Regions from separate parts of the Homo sapiens genome. Here all the other regions are linked to region 7. Evidence: promoter capture Hi-C in 16 types of primary human blood cells and fetal thymus (Javierre and others, 2016). All regions are on one chromosome and are shown on one strand. The core of a region is centred on a gene start or on the middle of the fragment in contact, and the rest is flanking DNA. Distances in the headings are between cores, read along the strand shown.

Region 1 (2,700 bases), core at 147-2,646, 2.7 Mb before region 7:
TCCAGTTCCAGGCTAATGGAAAATTGTCATTTTACTGGGGGTTATGTGGTGGCCAAAGTTGTTAATCATTGTTCCCCATGGGGTAGATACAGTGAGAGCTTCAGTAAAGCCTTTCCTCTAAAAGCCCACTATTTTAAGGTAACTTGGGATTACTGAACTATCTCCTTACCCCGATGAATCCTAACTTGAGTTGACTGAGGTGTTTTATCATTAAACATTAGTTTTACTGAAACTAATTTAAAAGGAAGCCTTAACTTTCATATCAAACAGCTATGGTAAACTGAGTAAGAACTCTGTACGAAGTCGCTATTAAAATGTTTTTATCTTGCTACCAGGATATGGATGTAAAATGCTAATAACTATTACACAACCTATAATAGTTACAGGTTACAATAGGGATAATAACACTTTAACCCACAAAGACTAGCTTAGTCCTACTACTTATCTATGAATAATGCATGTAGTCAATAACACTGGAAGGGATAGAGCATTATAAACTTATAATTCAGAGATGAGAAATGGTGCCAGTAATTTAAAAGTATTTCAGGTCTCATAATGCTAAAACAGGGTGTAGGTATGCCCTACAATTACAGAGAACTCAGTCGGGCTTGAGGAGAACAGCCTCACTTAATTGTAGTTTTCCTGTCGGTGTAAGGTGCCGGCGTTTCTTCATGTGGGAGGAGACTGAAATTCTAAAGGTTGTGTGGTTAGTAAAATTAGTCTGTGACCTCGGGAAACTAATGAGTCTTTGGGGCCTCAGCGATCTTCATGTTAAGGAATATTTTAGCCAGGAATTGCTTCATTTTCAATTCTTGTTTAGGGCGCTCTTAGGAAAAAGGACGCGTACGCTGCACAGAAAGTAAACAATAGAGCAGAAAGAAGAATCCGAAGGTCATTAATCTTAAAATAACCAACCCTCTGGAGCCAACTTATTTCTCTCTTTAAATTGCGGAATGAGCCCCATCCCCCTGCTGGATTAAACCGCAGAGGCCCAGGCCTCCCACCGGGTGTCCGCTGCATGAACCAGTCGCATGCCTGTTTCCTTCTCGAAACCCTCACAGAAAGACCCAACACACTCTAGGAAATAAACCGTCAACGTCAGGAGACGCTCAGAACCCTCTTCCCACACCCGGTGGTCCTCGCCCAGAGCATATTTCGCCTCCAGACCCCAGGATCCGGGAAATGGAACAAAACTCCCCGGCGGCGGCACTCACGCACTTTCCGGCACGCCGGAGCCGCAAAAGCCTCGACCGCTACGACTCCTCTGTCCGTCTACTGCGAAGCGGGGTGGCGTTGGGGGAGGTGGGCAACCTGTCAGTAAAGGGGGCGGGGCGCCGGCCGGAAGAGCCTCCGCGCGGCTGCGCTCTTTTCCTGGAGCTCAAGTGGGCGGGGCCTGTCGTCCGGGCAACCCGGGAGCGTTTGTCCACACAATTTCTGCTCCGACTCTGCGGACTACTGCAGTGGAGCTTGACTCTTAATGGTGAGCAAGGCAAATGAGGCAGACAGGTGGAGGGGCGACCACTGATTCTGCTTCACCAGTGTTAAATAATGTAATCAAGAGCCAGTCATATTTTACAGCGAAGCGGGTCGGTTTGGGAAATAACTCATACCTTGGGGTGGGTCGGCCCTCTTCTCAGCAATGGCTTTCCTTACCTGGACCAGGCGGACAGGTAGGAGTCCCAAACCAGTTTCTGCAAACGGGAGATGGTCAAAGCTGTCACACGGTATCCTGATCTCGAATGTTGCTAAGCTTGAAAATTGGTCCCAACCTAGTAACTTTCAGTAGTGATAGACGTTCCCACTAAATTTTCTTATTGCAACTTGGCGGAAATGTTTTAGTACTTCTCCAGCAGTTAATTAAAAGCTAATGCAATTTACTCTGCTTTGAAAAAATATTTTATGTCGTCTTTTGTGGGAATATGAATTGTTTTGTGATTCAAGGTTCTCATCCTGCATTAGTTAAATATGATAAGGCTTCTCATTTTGTTTTTCTGCACTCCTCAACTGCCATGTTTTCAGCAAGGAGACAGGCCAACATGTAGCTATGAGAGTATCTCTGATTTTCTTAAATGTGGTTTCCATCAAGACATTTTCTATAATTAAAACCAGAGGAAGTGGAGAATGTAATTACTTATTTAATTCATTAATTAAGGGAAAAATGTGGAGTGCATTCTTTGTACTTGGCACTGGGCTAGAAGCCAAGAATACCAAGAAGAACATGACGACAACTCTGCTTATAGGATACAGATTAAACAAATTAATTACAATACAGCTTTACAACTGTAACAATTGAAGCATCTAAAATGGGGTAACACACAGTTGGAAATGATGAAATTTCAGTGAGGGGAAACAAGGGAAGGAGAGTGGTGCTTTTCAACCTGTTTTAAAGTATAAATACGAGTTTTCCACATATGGTGGGAAGAAATAGGGAGTGGAGGCCTGGCGCGGTGGCTCACCCCTGTAATCCCAGCACTTTGGGAGGCCGAGGCGGGCAGATCACGATGTCAGGAGTTCGAGACCAGCCTGGTCAACATGGTGAAACCCAGTCTCTACTAAAAATACAAAAATTAGCCGGGCGTGTTGGCGCGCACCTGTAATTCCAGCTACTCAGGGGGCTGAAGCAAGAGAATCGCTTGAACCTGGGAGGCGGAGGTTGCAGTGAGCCGAGATTGTGCCACTGCACTCCAGCCTGGGTGACAG
Region 2 (2,700 bases), core at 144-2,643, 2.8 Mb before region 7:
CCGCCCCTCCAAGTCACAAGCACTTTCTATCCCCTTCCCCCTCTTGCTTTACTTTTCTTAAAATTAATTTATTCTCACTCATTTTGGCAGTGAAAGTTGCTTTATTTTTCTCTTTTGCACTTAACACTATCTAACCATCTACTTATTTTTCTTATTATCAGTAAGAAACACTTGATGAAATCTTAGATGTCTTTGATAATAAGATGCAACATTATTTTTGTATCACAAGAAAAGAAAAACAGCTGCCAATTACAAATGTAAGATGGTACTAAGTCAGATTACAATTTCAGAGATTTTGAAGTGTGAAAAATTGTCCATCTTACATTTGATGAAATAAAGTATTTTCTTTATTGTTTTTCTCTCTCACTAAAATGCAAATTTCCATATGGATGTGGATTTTTTTTTTTTTGAAATGGGGTCTCGCTGTGTTGGCCGGGGTGGTCTCAAACCCCTGGTGTCAAGCAATCCTCCCGCCTTGACCTCCCAAAATGTTGGGGTTACAGGTGTGAACCACTGCACCCAGCCTAGATATGGATTTTTATGTTTGGTTCACTGCTGTATTATCTGGCGCGTGGTAGATGTTTAATAAATATTTGTTGAATAAATGTTCAAGAACTAATAAAAAAAGAATAAATAATAGACTCCTATATGAGCAGAGTATATCTGTTCTAATTGCCTTAGAAGATTGAAATCTAAGAAGAAAAAGATCATAGAGGATGTCAAAGCTTGATCTGAATTTCCTAGAGTTTTCTGAAACCTCTAGAGAAGATGAGAGACCAATATTAATTCCATAAGTGCTACTGATGTTCTCAGGTTGAATGCATGCAAAGGCCATCCAACCTCAGTTAAAGATTTTCCTAGAATATTCTCTGCCTCCAAAGCTTAACCTAACAAGCTCCATCTTACTCAGATTCTCAGCTCAAGCATCACCTTCTCAGAAAGGAGTTCCGAGACTGCACGATCTAGAAAAAGTAGCCACCAGCACCACCTATCCCAGCTCTACCCATTCATCTCTATCTCATCACCTTGTTGTCTTTTATTCGTAGTACTTTTCACTATATGAAGTTATAGCATGTGCTTAGAACTGTGTCTGAAACAGAAAGTGCTTAATAATTAGCTGTTGAACCAATGTACATGGAGTGTTTGGATCCCTCAAAACTCTTCTCCCTCCCATCCTGACCTAAAAAAGTTCTAGAGAGTTCTATTGTTAAAGTCATTCCTTTTAGTAAAGTTATAAATATTCAAGAAATCTGATTATAAAGCAAATGTGATATTTGGACAAAGATAACATTAGCCGAGGGGTACCCATTAACACCTTGATAAATGCCACTTTTCCTGATGAGCGATTTTTATCTAATTAGAAAAAACAAAGCCCTGAGTGATGGGGAGAAGTTGGCTAGATGGCTTAGAGTAAGACTGGTGGAGTTCAGAGCAGCGACTGTGAAAGTGAGAATCCCAAGAAGCTAGTTTCCTGGACCTGAATGTGAGAAGGGGCAGGGGCATTAAATGGCTGAGTTTGACCTCTCTAACCTTTTGTCTAGGATTTGACCAAGCCCAGTGGCTACTTATCCTCCCTTCTCTTCCCTGTGCCTTCACCCTGTGATTTTCTCATCACCTTTTACATTCATCTACTAAGAAAGAATGCTTTCTATGCATTTTAGTTTCTTTTTCCTTCCAAAAAGGATCATCCAGTATATTATTTGTATAATGCAATCTTAGATCTACAAATTTTTCTAATGTCGACCTACAATTTTCTTGCTGTAGCTCATTCTGCCTTTGCACTATCTGTAAAGGAAAGAAAATGTCTGTTTAGTATATACTTCATAGAATATCTCTTCCTATATTTAAAGATCCTTAAATTCTACACTTCATAGGTCAGCTGAAGAATTTTTAAAATAAGCTTTATTTGCTTTATAAGGGGGCCAGTTATTGGAAGAACTTCAACCAGTATTTAAAAGCCAACTTTAGTCAAACCACTTTGTCTAGACACTTCACCTCAGTTTTCTGCAGTTTAAATATCCCACATCTTTAAGCCTTTCCCTATGGGGCCTCTTTCACAGAACTTTAATTAGTTTTGTGGTTCTTTCATAAAGTCATCTCAATTCTTTTTTCCCCCTCTGGTAATGAAAGCTTTTTTCCTCTAATATAAAAGCTTTCCAACCAATGGATTTCGTTTGAATCTCTGGATATCCAAAGCATGCATTTATATCCTCACTGAAGAAAATTATATAACTTTCTATTTTTCTTCTATGTACCTTTAAGTGATTTATTTTTTCGCCTATAATTTTATTATGCTAATCAGCTCATAAACATGGTCAGAGTGTGTGCCCTAGACCTAGACTATTCAAAATTCAGTAAGAAGAGAAAAGAGAGAGAGAGAGACAGAGACAGAGAGATTAGAAAGAAATATTTAAAATGTGTTGTTAGGATAACTTTGTGATTACTCAGGGATAGAGAATTTAAAATTTCAAATATAGACAGCCTAATAGGTACTAAAAGCCTAGAATTGTGCATTTATATTAATTCTAAGTGAGTATTTTTTTTGGCGTCTTTGAAAGAGAATTTTCTGTGTAAAAATGATTATTTTGAACTTTTAAATTAAAATGACAAGTTCTAAACAGTAGCTCTTCATTAAGGTGTTAAATTCAAAGAATTATTCAAAAGTCCAGTAATTAATAACAATTATATTTAGGGGCCATC
Region 3 (2,700 bases), core at 27-2,526, 2.4 Mb before region 7:
AAAACAAGGAAATGTGTCATGTTTTTCATGATAACTAATATTTTTTCAATTTTTTTTTTTTTTTAAGACAGTCTCACTCTGTCACCAGGCTGGAGTCAGTAGTGCGATCTTGGCTCACTGCAACCTCCACCTCCCAGGTTCACACAATTCTCATGTCTCAGCCTCCTGAGTAGCTGGGTTTACAGGCACTCGCCACCATGCCCAGCTAATTTTTGTATTTTTAGTAAAGACAGGGTTTTACCATGTTGGCCAGGCTGGTCTCAAACTCCTGACCTCAGGTGATCGGCCGCCTTGGCCTCCCAAAGTGCTGGGATTACAGGCGTGTGCCACTGTGCCTGGCCCCAGTTCTTATTATAAGTTCTCCATTAACCATATCATGAGATTAAAAAAACAACAATGATTTCATCGGAACTGACAAATAGTGGGTGACACAATTTTGATCATCAAGAAGACTTTAAAAGAAGGATTTGTATCACTGTCATTACTGATTACTTGGCCCTTGTGTATACTGGGCCTTTAGCTAGGGCTGGTACAATAAAATAACCATAGTTAGAAAGATATTTTAAAGGATTACTTATTTCATGTTTATCTCACCCTTTTATCCCTATTTTTGGGCATGATTTATTATTATTAGGTTTTTAAATAAATAATGAAATAAGCATGTTAGGTTTGCATGCTGCTTTGGTTAACATTGCTATATAACCAACCACCCCAAACTTTGTGGCCTTAAAACAATAATTTATTTATTTATTTATTTATTTATTTATTTATTTATTTATTTATTTTTGAGACAGAGTCTCGCTATGTCACCCAGGCTGGAGTGCAGCGGCATGATCTCGGCTCACTGCAACCTCCACCTCCTGGGTTCAAGTGATCCTCCTGCCTCAGCCTCCCGTAGAGCTGGGATTACAGGCACCCGCCATCAAGCCCAGCTAATTTTTCCTTTATTTTTAGTAGAGACGGGGTTTCACCATGTTGGCCAGGTTGGTCTCGAACTCCTGATCTCAGGTGATATGCCTGCTTTGGCCTCCCAAAGTGCTGGGATTACAGGTGTGAGCCACTGTGCATGGCCAACAATAATTTATTTTTATCTCTCATGGTCTCTAGATTGCCTGGGCCCGGCTGAGCAGTCTGAGTCAGCCTTATGGTCTCTCATGTGTTTTTAATCAGTCATGAGGGGCCGGCATCATCTGAAGGCTTGACTGGGCTGGATGTTTAAGACAGCCACTCACAGGGCTGACAGTGATGCTGGATGTTGCACTGTTGACTAATGAGCCTGCACGTGGCTCCTCCATGTGATTTGGGCTATTTATAGCTGGGGTGACTGGGTTCTAGGTGGGGTAGTTCCAAGATCCTTCCAAGAGGAAGAAAGCAGAAACTGCCTGGCCAGTTAGTGTATATGCTTAGTCTTAGAACAGTGTCACTTCCATATTTCTCCATAGTCCATTAATCAAAGCAGTTACAGGAAGCAGACAGACAGGAAGGGAAAACACAATGCAACAGAAGGAGAGATTGAAGTGTTGGCAGCTGCAAGCCAAGAAACACCTGGGTTACCAGAAGCTAGAAGAAGAAAGGTAGGATTCTCCCCTACAGGTTCCAAAGGAAGCTGGGCCTGTCCACACCTCACCTCTGGAACTATGAGACAATCACTTTCTGTGGGTTTAAGCTACCCAGTTTGTGGCACTTTGTTACTACCGTCCTAGGCAAATGATACAGTAACTACATACACAGTACATAGAATTGCTCATTTTACTTCGTTGAATGGGACTTGGCATTGAATAAGCCCAAATGAGAATTCTTTTGTCAAGATTTTTTTATGGCTCACTTTTCCAGAGACGTGACATGGCAGGAGTAAGGGGAGGGTTTGGCAGGTAGGAATTATACTCATCTGTCATTGTCTTCCCAATACCAACCAGGAAGCATGTAAATAATAGCTGTGCAGTTTGTTTTCTGAACCAAACTGGGCCTTATTTTTTTTAAAGAAACTTTATTAAACAAACAAAAACCTAGAAACACTAGATGTATATTTTTAAGGTTTCTCTCACATAATATCCTAATCATCAGTATACCGTAATCCAAGGGCTACATATAACTGAAAAATAAATGGGTCTTAAAAAAATTAAAACATGGTATATAACACTAGCTAACATGTACTGAGCAGTTACTAAGTGCTAAGTACTGCTAAGTCCTTTATAGATATCTTCATGTTGAGTGTCGTCACTGCCCATTACTTACTCTGAGTTTAAATATGAGACTCAAAAGAGGTTAGTAATTTGCCAAAAGTCATAGGGCTTATAAGTGATAGAACCAGGATAACGAATCTCAACCAAGGGACTTCAATGCCCAAACCGGTGCTCAGACTGTAGCCCCATGTAGTTAGCTATTTACATTTGAAAAAATTTTTAATGTTTATTATTTTTTTTAAGACAGGGTCTTGCTCTGTCACCTAGGCTGGAGTGGAGTGGTGTGATCTTGGCTCACTGCAACCTCCACCTCCTGGGCTCAAGTGATCCTCTCATCTCAGCCTCCCAAGTAGCTGGGACCACAGGTGTATGGCACCACGCCCAACTAATTTGTTGTGTTCTTGGTAGAGGTGAGTTTCACCATGTTGCCCAGGCTGGTCTTGAACTCCTGAGCTCAAGTGACCTGCCCACTTGCCTCACCCTCCTAAAGTGGGGGGATTACAGGTGTGAGCCACCA
Region 4 (2,700 bases), core at 81-2,580, 2.5 Mb before region 7:
AGTGAAAATGGTGTCTGTGAAAATTTGATAGCTATAAAATTATTGCCTTAATCCAAGAGGTAGATTCACATCTATCATAGTTATATTATAATAGAAAATGTTGTTGGTGTTCTTGAGATGATTAAAGCATCTTTAGATATGGAGGTTTTTCCAGCTCAACTTATTGCAGAGGGCTTTTCAGGCACTCTGCCTAGCTTAATCTTCCACATGGTTTTTTTTTTCCTGCTTTAACAGATGTGTCTGCATGATGCCCTAGAAACAGATACATGCAAATATCACCCTTCTTTCTTTCCTCCTCCATCATCTTCCTCCAGTGCCAACCTTGCTGCCTTGCTGTTCCCTTATGTTCTTCATTTCTGAACAAAAAGGAGATTCACCAAGTATCACAAGGGAAGGAAATACACTTTACCAGGGATATCTTGAGATGACCCATACAGAAAGAAATAGAAAGTTTAATTCAAATATGAGAAAGAAAAAAGAGACAGTAACCATCAAAGCCTATTCAAGAATACTCAAAATTTCAGCATATTATAAATTGAATGATATGCCCTTACTATCAGAAAGGAGGTCCCCAAGACTGAAAAACTGGCTGTTCGCTAATAGATATAGTGGTGGGGCAAAGAAAATTCTGAAATGCTTCCTCTCTAGAAGATATTATCAGTAGCCACTCACTAATGTAAGATCTCCTTTCTTATTTTGCTAAATACTTTAAGTGCAGAAGAGAACAAAGTCCACCAAAACATTTTCTTCTAAACTGGTTATTTAATTTAATGATTAAAGTCATTGTCTGTTATAAATTAGCTTCAAAACCTTACATGAATTGAACAACTTCCTCCACAGTAACTGAACACATATCAGAGATATTTTACCTGAAACAGCAAGCCATGGTGTTCCCCTTCAATGAACTCCTTTTGAAGTGACTCAATTGTTGCTACAAAGAGAATTTATAACCAGCTCAATATGACCATTTTAATTTAATTAATTAATGAATTTATTTCAAGACAGGATTTGGTTCTATTGCCCAGATTGGAGTGCAGTGGCATGATCTCACCTCACTGCAAACTCTGCCTCCTGGGCTGAAGCCATCCTCCTGTTTCAACCTCCCAAGTAGCTGGAATTACAGGCACATGCCACCCACACTCAGCTAGTTTTGGTATTTTTTGTAGAGATGGGTTTCACCATGTTGTCTAGACTGGTCTCAAACTCCTGAGTTCAGGTGATCCACCCACCCCGGCCTCCCACAGTGCTGGGATTACAGGCATGAGCCACTATGCCCAGTATGAGCATATTTAACCTTGTCTCCTTTAATTCATTTCATTGCTTCAAAAACTTTTAATGGCTTTAAATTTGGGGCCTCAAGAAAAGGAAAGGGAAAATAATGATTTCTGAGAATGGCACTCTCAACTTATGACTCGGGAAAAATGGAAAACCAGGCTAGAACAGATAAGCCATTATCTCCCTTGGGTATTTAAATTTTACTTTGATAGATACATGTGAATTGTCTTCTAGAAGTGAGTCACAGAATTGTCTAATCTTAAGCTAAGAATACATCTTAGGCCTGGTGCAGTGGCTCACACCTCTAATTTCAGCTCTTTGAGAGACCAAGGTGGGTGGATCATTTTAGGCCAGTACTTTGGGACTAGCCTGGCCAACAGGACAAAACCCCATCTCTACTAAAAAAAAAAAATACAAAAATTAGCTGGGTGTGGTGGCGCATGCCTGTAATCCTAGCTACTTGGGAGGCTGAGGCAGGAGAATCACTTGAACCTGGGAGGTGAAGGTTGCAGTGAGCCAAGATCATGCCACTGCACTCCAGGGCGAGACTCCCTCTCAAAAAAAAAAAAAAAAAAAAAAGAAAATACATTTTAGAGGTCATTCAGTCTGACCTCCTACTGATAAAGAAATCCTATCTCCAATAAGCCTCTGCTTGAGCCCTCAAATTACAGCCCTAGGATCCCAGAATCCTACAAGTAGATCTCAGATCATGAGAACACTGATGTGCAGACGATTGAAAAGGTAACTGGTAAATCATGGAGCTGAGATTAGACTCATGGAACAGAGCTTAACTCAGGGTATCATTCTGTGAAACTAAAAATATTTGTTTTTCTGCTTAAGTAAAATCTCTAAAGGTCTTATGCCTGGAATAATGGAAATGGGGGAAAAGTACCTAATATTTAACTAGCTCTTTGATGTACATAATAACATATTATTTATTTGACAAATCCTACTCTCTGAAACATAGCCAAAACCAGAAAATAAACCCAAATCTTTTGAACAACTAGAATAGATACTGATATTTATGCCCTTTATTCACGTGGCAAACCTCACACTTCAACTCAAGCAGTGGGCTCTGGGTATATACATAATTTTCACCAGTTTGACTGCCTTCTCAGCCCAAAGAAGATTAAAAGCAAAACTTAAACAAGGATATAAGGAGCTCTGCTAGATGGAAGCATATTAATAGCTACCACTTTTTTTTAAAATCACTAACAGCCAGGAAAATTATTAACAGCAGATACTCTGGCATCCAAAATACATAGAAATCTGGTGCTTCTTATTTTATAAACCAACAGTTTTATATCTTAATAGCCTGGAGAAATTCTGAGTCATGAGCATAATGCTAATGAAAAGAAGTACATAATCTAATTTTTAATTTTTTTCAGGAAAAAGGCTCTAAAAGCTTCAATTATGTAGAAAATT
Region 5 (2,700 bases), core at 116-2,615, 2.3 Mb before region 7:
GTGAAATGAAGTGCTTTTATTTATTTATTTTTCAGACAGATTCTTGCTCTGTCACCCAGGCTGGAGTGCAGTGGCACGATCGTGGCTCACTGCAGCCTCAAACTCCTGGGCTCAAGCAAACCTCGTACCTCAGCCTCCTGAGTAGCTGGGACCACAGACACATGTCACCATGTCTGGCTAATTTTTACATATTTTGTTGAGACTGGGTTTTGCCATGTTGCCCAGGCTGGTCTCAAACTCCTGGGCTCAAGCAATCCTCTTGCCTTGGCTTCTTCAAGTGCTGGGATGACAGCCATGAGCCACTGCTCCTGGCTATGTGCTTTTAAATTTGAAAGGAATAATATGCCCAAGCCCAGGTCACTGGTTCTCAAACTTAATGTGCATCAGAATCAGCTGGCTACATCTCCAGAGTTTCTCATTTCTAACAAGTGTCCAGATCATGTTAATTTTGTCGCTCCAGGGACCACATTTTGGGAATTGCTGGCCTATGGGAAGTAAATGAGAAATGATTTAATGTCATTTTTGGAAGTTAAAAAAGATTTTGGTGGTCACTGGTTTTTGAAAACTCTTTGAAGGCTGGGTGGGGTGGTTCACATCTGTAATTTCAGCAGTTTCGGGGAGATGGGGTTCTTGGGAAATGAGCCCTCCACCCATGGGATCTGATGCTATTTCCACGTAGATAATGTCAGAGTCGTTCAAACCAGAGTGACTCCATCCTGAATAGGGGCTGGGTAAAATAAGGCTGAGACCTACTGGGCTGCAACATGATGAGACCCTGACTCTATTGAAACAAAACAAAACAAAACAAAACAAAACAAAACAAAAAACGGCCAGGCGAGGTGGCTCACGCCTGTAATACCAGCACTTTGGGAGGCCAAGGCGGGCGGATCACGAGGTCAGGAGATCGAGACCATCCTGGCTAACATGGTGAAACCCCATCTCTACTAAAAATAGAAAAAAAAAAAAAAATTAGCCGGGCGTGGTGGCAGGCGCCTGTAGTCCAAGCTACTTAGGAGGCTGAGGCAGGAAAATGACGTGAACCCAGGAGGCGGAGTTTGCAGTGAGCCGAGATCACGCCGCTGCACTCCACACTGGGTGACAGAGCAAGACTCCATCTCAAAAAAAAAAAACAAAAACCTCTTTGGCCATCTATTTAGATGAGTTGGAATGCTACTTTGATTGGTTTTGCCAATTTAGATTTTTGTAATTAGGGTAGTTTAAAAAAACTCTCAAATTACTGTTATCCTTTGTTAAAAACCAAAATCTTTTATTATTAGTCTTCTGCTTACAATATAAGTAAAATAAATGTTTTGTATTAATAACTGGATTGTATATTGCATGGTTACCACTATGTAACAAAATTAATAGCTTAAAATTACAAGCGTCATTTTAAAATTATTTTTCATGTTTCTGGGGTTGACTAGGATGGCTAAGTGGTTTTTGCTTGGGGTCCGTCACACGGTTGCTGTCAGTGGCTGGGGTTAGAGTCAGCTCACAGGCTTCCTAACTCATATGGTGCTGGAGGGAGTGTCTCTTAGCATGCTAATGCTTCATAATTTGTGTATAATGAACAGTGAGGATGACCAGAGGTCACTTTCATTGCCATCTGGGCTGCAAAACTCAAGGAGTTGAAGGCTCTTCCGGCATTACTTGTTCTCCATGTGGTCTCCTCAGGATGGCAGTCACAGAGTAGGCAGCCTTCTTATGTGCTGACCTAGGGCCCAAAATCTGTATGTGTCAGTTGACTGAGCCCAGATGGAAGCTCTATTGCTGTTTACGCCCTAGCCTCAAAACTACTCTTTCAAGAAAAATTCTCCAACCGAGTTTTTCCTCTACTCTCACACCACCACAACAATAGTCAACATAGGAGACTTCTATGATCAAAGGTGTAGGGATTTCTCCCCACCACCAAGCAGTGAACCCCAGCTGGGTGTCCTCCAATTCAATTCTCACACTGTTATTACGGGAAAGGTGTCCCAATCCAGTCCCCAAGAGGTTCTTGGATGTTGCACAAGAAAGAATTTGGGGAGAGTCCACAAAGTAAAATAAAATTTATTAAGAAAGTAAAGGAAAAAAAGAATGGCTACTCCGTAGACAGAGGAGCTCCGAGGGCTGCTGGTTGGCTATTTTAATGGTTATTTCTTGATCATTTGCTAAAGAAGGGGTAGATTATTCATAAATTTTCCAGAAAAGGGATGGGCAATTCCTGGAACTGAGGGTTCCTCCCCTTTTTAGACCTTGTAGGTTAACTTCCCACCATTGCCATGGCCTCTGTAAATTGTCGTGACACTGGTAGGAGTGTCTGTTAGCATGCTAATGCATTATAATTAGCTTATAATGAGCAGCGAGGACGGCCAGACATCCCTTTCATTGCCATATGGGATTTGGCAGGTTTTGGCTGGCTTCTTTACCACATCTTGTTTTATCAGTGGGGTCTTTGTAACCTGTATGTTGTGCCGACCTCCTATCTCATCCTGTGACCTAGAATACTAACCTCCTGAGAATGCAGCCCAGTAGGTTTCAGCCTTATTTTACCCAGCCCCTAATCAGGATGGAGTCGCTCTGGTCCAAACACCTCTGACATTATCCACCTGGAAATAGTGTCAGATCCCATGGGTTAAGGGCTCATTCCCCAAGACCCTAACCACCCTCACCTGGCCCAGACACAAGTCACAAGTCCTGTCCTCTGGAATGTCTGAC
Region 6 (2,700 bases), core at 64-2,563, 2.6 Mb before region 7:
ACAATATGATTACAAATGTGAAATTTGCATAAACTACAAAATGAATGGAAGGCCTTCTACTAAAATGCCAGTGGCAACTAGACATTAGTAATAACTTGGGAAGTAGAAATTAGCCTAAGTGTTGGCCTTTGCAAATAAGCAGCTCTATGATTAGAGAGGAAAACTAAGCAAAACAAAACTACTTATAAATAATGCTTTAAAAATAAAAATGTGAAAGTATTTTAGTGCTTCTATGTATCTGAATATTAAGGATTAGAAGTTACTTGGATAAAGAAGAACTTGGTTATTTTAGAGCTCTCTCAAGTTACTGGTTAAAGCCATCATGTTTTTATCTAAGTTGGTTAAACTAGGTTATAAAAATTCACCTTCAAAAAAGAAGTCATTTAATCTTTGGTTGAATCTTCATCAATGTGAACCTTTAAACATTTTTATTCCACAGTGGAAGCACTACATTCAATGTGATGGGAGTCCTGATCCTTCAGTAGCCCAAGAAATGAACACGTTTATTAGTTTGTGGAAAGAGAAAACAAATGAGACTTTTGAGGAAGTGATTGAGAAGAGTAAAGTAGTGCTAAATGTAGGTATTTATGCATTTTCCTATAAACTGGCTATTACAAATAGTCTGATATTAACTCAAAATAAAAATTAATATATCATTTGCCAAGTAATAACACTACTGCTTTTGAACCCTTAGCAAAAGAAGTAATTGGTAATCTTTTCATTTTCTTTTTTCTTTTTTACAAGTCCTAAGAATTCCTTGCCATATTAGCTAAGGTCAGCATATCATAAAACATTGATTATTTGTCTGTCTAATCAAGAAAAAAAAATCAAGTTGCATGCATTCATGTAGATAACTCGGGTGGGGGTAGTGGGTAATTTTATCCTCAGTTGGAATATCCACTGTTCAGTAATTTAGTACCCATGATTTTTCATGTTTACTAGGTGCCAGGTATACACTCTGTTAGACAGTGGGGGTACAAAGACAAATCAGAATATTCTAACTTTTGTTCCTGCAAATAGGATGGTTAGACTAGCCTGAGAAGCTGCCACTTTACAATGCACTTAAAAATACTGGGGGAAAAAAAACTAATTTATTAAAAAAAATTTAAATTCATTGCTTTAATCAAAAAAAGTAAGGTAAAACCTTAGAGGCCATAAAACAATCCAGAAAGTAAGAAGGTCTTGAAGCCATGGCTTCATAGCTAACTAGTTAGTGGCTTAGCTAGCTAACTGCTATGGCTTAGCATTGGTTCAAAGGGCCATCAGGAGGCAAAGCCTAGAGTACATACAAGGTGGTAAGTTGAACCAGAGACTCCTGTATGGCTGGGAGCCTCAAAAGACATTATGGATAACAGGAAAAATTTATTGTGCAAAAGGAGATAAGATGCGTTTGGCTTATCTTTAGCTTAGTGAATAAGAAACAAAAATGTCTCCACTAAGAATTTTTATTTATTTATTTATTTAATTAATTTTTTGAGACGGCATCTCGCTCTGTCACCCAGGCTGGAGTGCAGTGGCGTGATCTCGGCTTACCGCAACCTCTACCTCCCGGATTCAACCAATTCTCATGCCTCAGCCTCCCAATAGCTGGAATTACAGTCATGTGCCACCACACCTGGCTAATTTTTGTATTTTTAGTAGAAATGAGGTTTCACCATGTTGGCCAGGATGGTCTCAAACTGCTGACCTCAAATGATCCAGCAGCCTCAGCTTCCCAAAGTGCTAGGATTACCACTGCACCTAGCCAAGAATTTTTAATGAGGAGTGAATCAAAAGTTGGATTGGAAAATTTACCAGAAGACAGCACAGAGACAAAGAGATAGAAAATATGAAAGAGCAGTTGACAGGCATGTATTATAGAGTAACAAGGGCTAAAAAAGAAAAGAAGGGATACAGAAGAATGGAAGAGAGACAATATTCAAAGAGATAATGGCTGAAAATTTTCCAGAATTGATGAAAGATGTGAATCCTCACATTCAGGAAGCTCAAGAAATTCTAAGTAAAACGAAAAACTAGCGTTTATACTTTTAACACTTCTGACACCAAATGTATGTGGGGTTTTCTCACACCAACCAATTATCCAACTCTCCAGATTCCTACTGAAGTGTCCTTCGATCCAGTGCTGGTACTGAGTACTTAGAGCTAGTGCAGACCCCCGTCCCACAAAACTGCCCTTTCCTTCACTTCCAATCACAAGTCCCAGCTTGTCACCTGTACTTCTGATCAGCCTGTTATAAATCAGCCACAAGCCATTGGTCAGGTTATTTGCTGTAATGGCTCACAAAACTCAGAGAAACATTTACTCGCCTTTACTGGTTTATTATAAAGGATATTACAAAAGATACAAGTGAAAAACTAGATGAAGAAATACAAGGGGTGAGGTCCGTAGGGAGGAGTGTAGAGCTTCCGTGCCCTCTTGGGGCACACCACCCTTCCAGCACCTCAATGTGTTCACCAACCGGAAAGTTCTCTGAACCTCGTTGTTTGAGTTTTTTATGGAAACCTCATTTATGTAGGCATGCTTGATTAAATCATTTGCCGTTGGCATTTAAGTTCATCTTCATCCCCTCTCCCCATCCTGGAGGCTAGGGAGTGGGGCTGCAAGTTTCAGCCCTCTAATCACATGGTTGGTCCCTCTGGCAATCAGCCGCCATCCTCTGAGACTCATCATATTAGCATAAACTCAGGTGAGGTTGAAAA
Region 7 (2,700 bases), core at 201-2,700:
GTCAATGCTGATTTTGATATTTGGTAAGGACTGATTTATTTACATCTTGTGTGTGCCTCAATTTCCCTAATATGGTCTGAGCCTGTAGATAACACCTTACTTTATTTATAGTTGGGTCAATTCTTCAAGATGTTTAACGCTCTCCATGTTTATTTCTTGTGGTTGACTATACTTTCCATGGTAGGAAGTCCTGAACTTCTGCTACTACTGTAGGTCTTATCTTTAGGCTTGTGGATGCTTAATAAGAACACTGAGATGATCTAAGAGTGCAGGACATTTAATTAAAAAAAAATTTTTTTTAAGAGACAGAGTTTTGCTCTGTTGCCCAGGTTGGGGTGCAGTGGTGAGATGGCAGCTCACTGCAGCCTCAAACTCCTGGGCTCAAGCAATTCTCCCAGATTCTCCCACCTCAGCTTCCTAGGTAGCTGAGACCACAGACGAGCCACCGGCCCAGCTAATTTTTGCATTTCTTGTAAAGAAGGGGTCTTACTGTGTTGCCTCGTCTCCATGAGGCTGGTCTCGAACTCCTGGACTCAATCGATCCTCCCACCTCAGCCTCCCACAGTGCTGGGATTACAAATCTGAGCCACCACACCTACCAGCAGAAACTTTTTTTCAAGAGGAGACTTTGGATTTCAAGGTGACCTCCCCCACCCCGCCCACAGTAATATCTGTGACCCAGTGCACAACACAAGTGCCTATGACTGAATAAAATATTTCACTAAATATTTATTTCACTATTCGAGATGTGCCTGGTATCTCTATTTCTTTCTTTCTTTTTTTTCTTTTTTTGGAGACAGAGGAGTGATCTCGGCTCACTGCAACCTCCGCCTCGCAGGTTCAAGCGATTTTCCTGCCTCAGCCTCCTGAGTAGCTGGAATTAGAGGCGCTCGCCACGACGCCCAGCTAATTTTTGTATTTTTAGTAGAGACGGGGTTTCGCCATGTTGTCCAGGCTGGTCTTGAACTCCTGACCTCAGGTGATCCGCCCGCCTCGGCCACCCAAAGTGCTGGGATTACAGACGTGAGCCACTGTGCCTGGCCATCTAACTCTATTTCACAGAAAACTGGAACCACCACACGCACCTGTACCCCTTCCAAGTAGAAACCAGCTAATTTGGTTTTACGAATCACTAAAGGCCGACTGAAAACGCTCTTCTAGCAGTCTTCGCTGCTACTCCATCTATCACAGCCCATCCGAAAAGCGGCGGTAGCAGCTGGGAAGGCCGCGGCCGGAGGCTGTCACAGAGCAGCACTCGCGCTTCGGCCCGCAAGATGGAGCGTTTCCCTCCAGGGAAGCAGCGCCGCACCTATCCACAGCCCCCACTCGGTGGATGATGCAGGACTCGGCCCATTTCCCTGCCCTCCAGCTTTCTCAACGTCAGCCCCGCCCCCTTATCTTTCCTCGGCGAGTTTAGTTTCGCCCCGCCAAGTGGGCAGAGCGCCGAACGATCGATGCTTTCTTCCGCGCCCCGAGAGCCGCCATTTTTGAGAGCGGGGGAGGAGAGACAAGCAGGGGCGGCAGAGGCTCAACGGGATGCTGACTGGGTTTTGCTTTTCGTCCCAGCCTTGTGGGGCCGGGACGGAAGAACCCATCAAAGCCCTTCCTCCCGCCGCCTCTCCGGAATGAGGTCTCAGCACCCGCGCGGGACAGCACCCTTCCTCCTGCGACAGTGAGTGGCGACCCGTGGCGCGACTGCCGGGCGCCCGCGCGCGCCCCCGCGCGCTCCTTCGCTGTCAGTTACCCCGCGCGCCTCCGCCCCTCTCCCGCCGGCCCCGCGCTCGGCGCAGACTCGTTTGTTTGTTTCTGCAGGAGCCCAAGAAGAGGCCGAAACCGAGACCATGCCAGGGAAGCTGAAGGTGAAAATCGTGGCCGGGCGCCATTTGCCAGTGATGGACCGTGCTAGTGACCTGACTGATGCCTTCGTGGAGGTTGGTGCAGGGTCCTGCCCCTCAAAACACAGGGAGCGCCAAGCCCTGTGAAGGATCTACCCACCTCGCCCCCAGCCCCTCAGCCTATTCCCCCCTCGACTGCCCTCCCTTCGGCCGTGGTTGTCCAGCTCTCCCACGAGGGATGACCGCCGAGACCTCAGTGTGTGCGATGGGTGCACGGCTTGCAGGCGTCCGCGGCACAGTCCGCTGCGCGGGGAGGCTTGTACTGTTGTGCATGCGGGGGTGACCCTGATGTCAGGACTCATTAACAGGCCACCTGCCACTCAGGAGATCCCAAGGCGTGGCCGCGCAGCCACCGACACACTCACACACATACACACACACACACACAAATGCCGGAATGACTCTGATGTCAGGACTCATTAACAGGCCACCTGCCACTCAGGAGATCCCAAGGTGTGGCCCCGCAGCCACTGAAACACACACACACACAGGCACACACACACCCTTGGAAGGGGTGGCCAGAGTGCTGGACATCATGTTTAAGAAGGTGCATGAAGCCCTTTATGGGCACTTGGAGTCCCACAGTGCGAGGAAATCCACTCTCATGCCTAACATTTTGTGAATCTGCCATGCACGTTCTAAAACACAACTGCAACACTTCCTGCTCTTGTATAGGCTGGTAGGTCTGATGAGGTGTTTCAGGGTAATTTAGCGCCTTGAGGTAGGAAGTCATTTAATTGCCATGGACTTAAATTGCAAAATTGCTTTTTAAGTCTAATGATTAGTTTAAAAGTCATGCAAATTA

What was found. Contacts are between HindIII fragments. The CHiCAGO score rates a contact against its expected background, and 5 or more counts as called.
Region 1: the fragment with the promoter of DNAI7 here is called in contact with the fragment with the promoter of C2CD5 in region 7 in 2 of 17 cell types (naive B cells and total B cells); the score reaches 6.0 in naive B cells.
Region 2: a contact is called between a fragment that was not itself captured here and the fragment with the promoter of C2CD5 in region 7, in 1 of 17 cell types (monocytes). The highest score is 5.1, in monocytes.
Region 3: a fragment that was not itself captured here is called in contact with the fragment with the promoter of C2CD5 in region 7 in 2 of 17 cell types (M0 macrophages and M2 macrophages); the score reaches 11.2 in M0 macrophages.
Region 4: a fragment that was not itself captured here is called in contact with the fragment with the promoter of C2CD5 in region 7 in 1 of 17 cell types (M0 macrophages); the score reaches 6.6 in M0 macrophages.
Region 5: a fragment that was not itself captured here is called in contact with the fragment with the promoter of C2CD5 in region 7 in 1 of 17 cell types (M0 macrophages); the score reaches 8.8 in M0 macrophages.
Region 6: a fragment that was not itself captured here is called in contact with the fragment with the promoter of C2CD5 in region 7 in 1 of 17 cell types (monocytes); the score reaches 5.1 in monocytes.

The regions. Positions count from the first base shown.
Region 1 is chr12:25,193,856-25,196,555 of GRCh38, reverse strand. It overlaps DNAI7 (dynein axonemal intermediate chain 7), which reads left to right and starts at 1,396. Exons shown (of 16, transcript NM_018272.5): 1 at 1,396-1,480. The coding sequence starts at 1,478. ETFRF1 (electron transfer flavoprotein regulatory factor 1) reads right to left here and starts at 1,319. Exons shown (of 3, transcript NM_001001660.3): 1 at 1,219-1,319. RefSeq lists an enhancer at 959-1,078. The HindIII fragment of the contact is 2,518 bases long and covers 1-1,752 here.
Region 2 is chr12:25,334,733-25,337,432 of GRCh38, reverse strand. No RefSeq gene overlaps it. Among named protein-coding and RNA genes, the nearest start is that of KRAS, 85 kb to the right of the region's middle. The HindIII fragment of the contact is 1,019 bases long and covers 884-1,902 here.
Region 3 is chr12:24,908,464-24,911,163 of GRCh38, reverse strand. All of the region lies in intron 1 of BCAT1 (branched chain amino acid transaminase 1), which reads left to right. Among named protein-coding and RNA genes, the nearest start is that of BCAT1, 39 kb to the left of the region's middle. The HindIII fragment of the contact is 4,004 bases long and covers 1-2,700 here.
Region 4 is chr12:25,059,823-25,062,522 of GRCh38, reverse strand. It overlaps IRAG2 (inositol 1,4,5-triphosphate receptor associated 2), which reads right to left. Exons shown (of 22, transcript NM_001366544.2): 2 at 870-931. Among named protein-coding and RNA genes, the nearest start is that of IRAG2, 8.5 kb to the right of the region's middle. The HindIII fragment of the contact is 2,704 bases long and covers 1-2,682 here.
Region 5 is chr12:24,890,185-24,892,884 of GRCh38, reverse strand. The region is part of intron 3 of BCAT1 (branched chain amino acid transaminase 1); the gene reads left to right. Among named protein-coding and RNA genes, the nearest start is that of BCAT1, 58 kb to the left of the region's middle. The HindIII fragment of the contact is 3,221 bases long and covers 1-2,700 here.
Region 6 is chr12:25,152,196-25,154,895 of GRCh38, reverse strand. It overlaps DNAI7 (dynein axonemal intermediate chain 7), which reads left to right. Exons shown (of 16, transcript NM_018272.5): 6 at 440-577. Among named protein-coding and RNA genes, the nearest start is that of DNAI7, 42 kb to the left of the region's middle. The HindIII fragment of the contact is 2,905 bases long and covers 1-2,700 here.
Region 7 is chr12:22,543,292-22,545,991 of GRCh38, reverse strand. It overlaps C2CD5 (C2 calcium dependent domain containing 5), which reads left to right and starts at 1,450. Exons shown (of 27, transcript NM_001286176.2): 1 at 1,450-1,672; 2 at 1,813-1,931. The coding sequence starts at 1,842. RefSeq lists enhancers at 1,320-1,549, 2,690-2,700 and a silencer at 1,690-1,809. The HindIII fragment of the contact is 7,848 bases long and covers 1-2,700 here.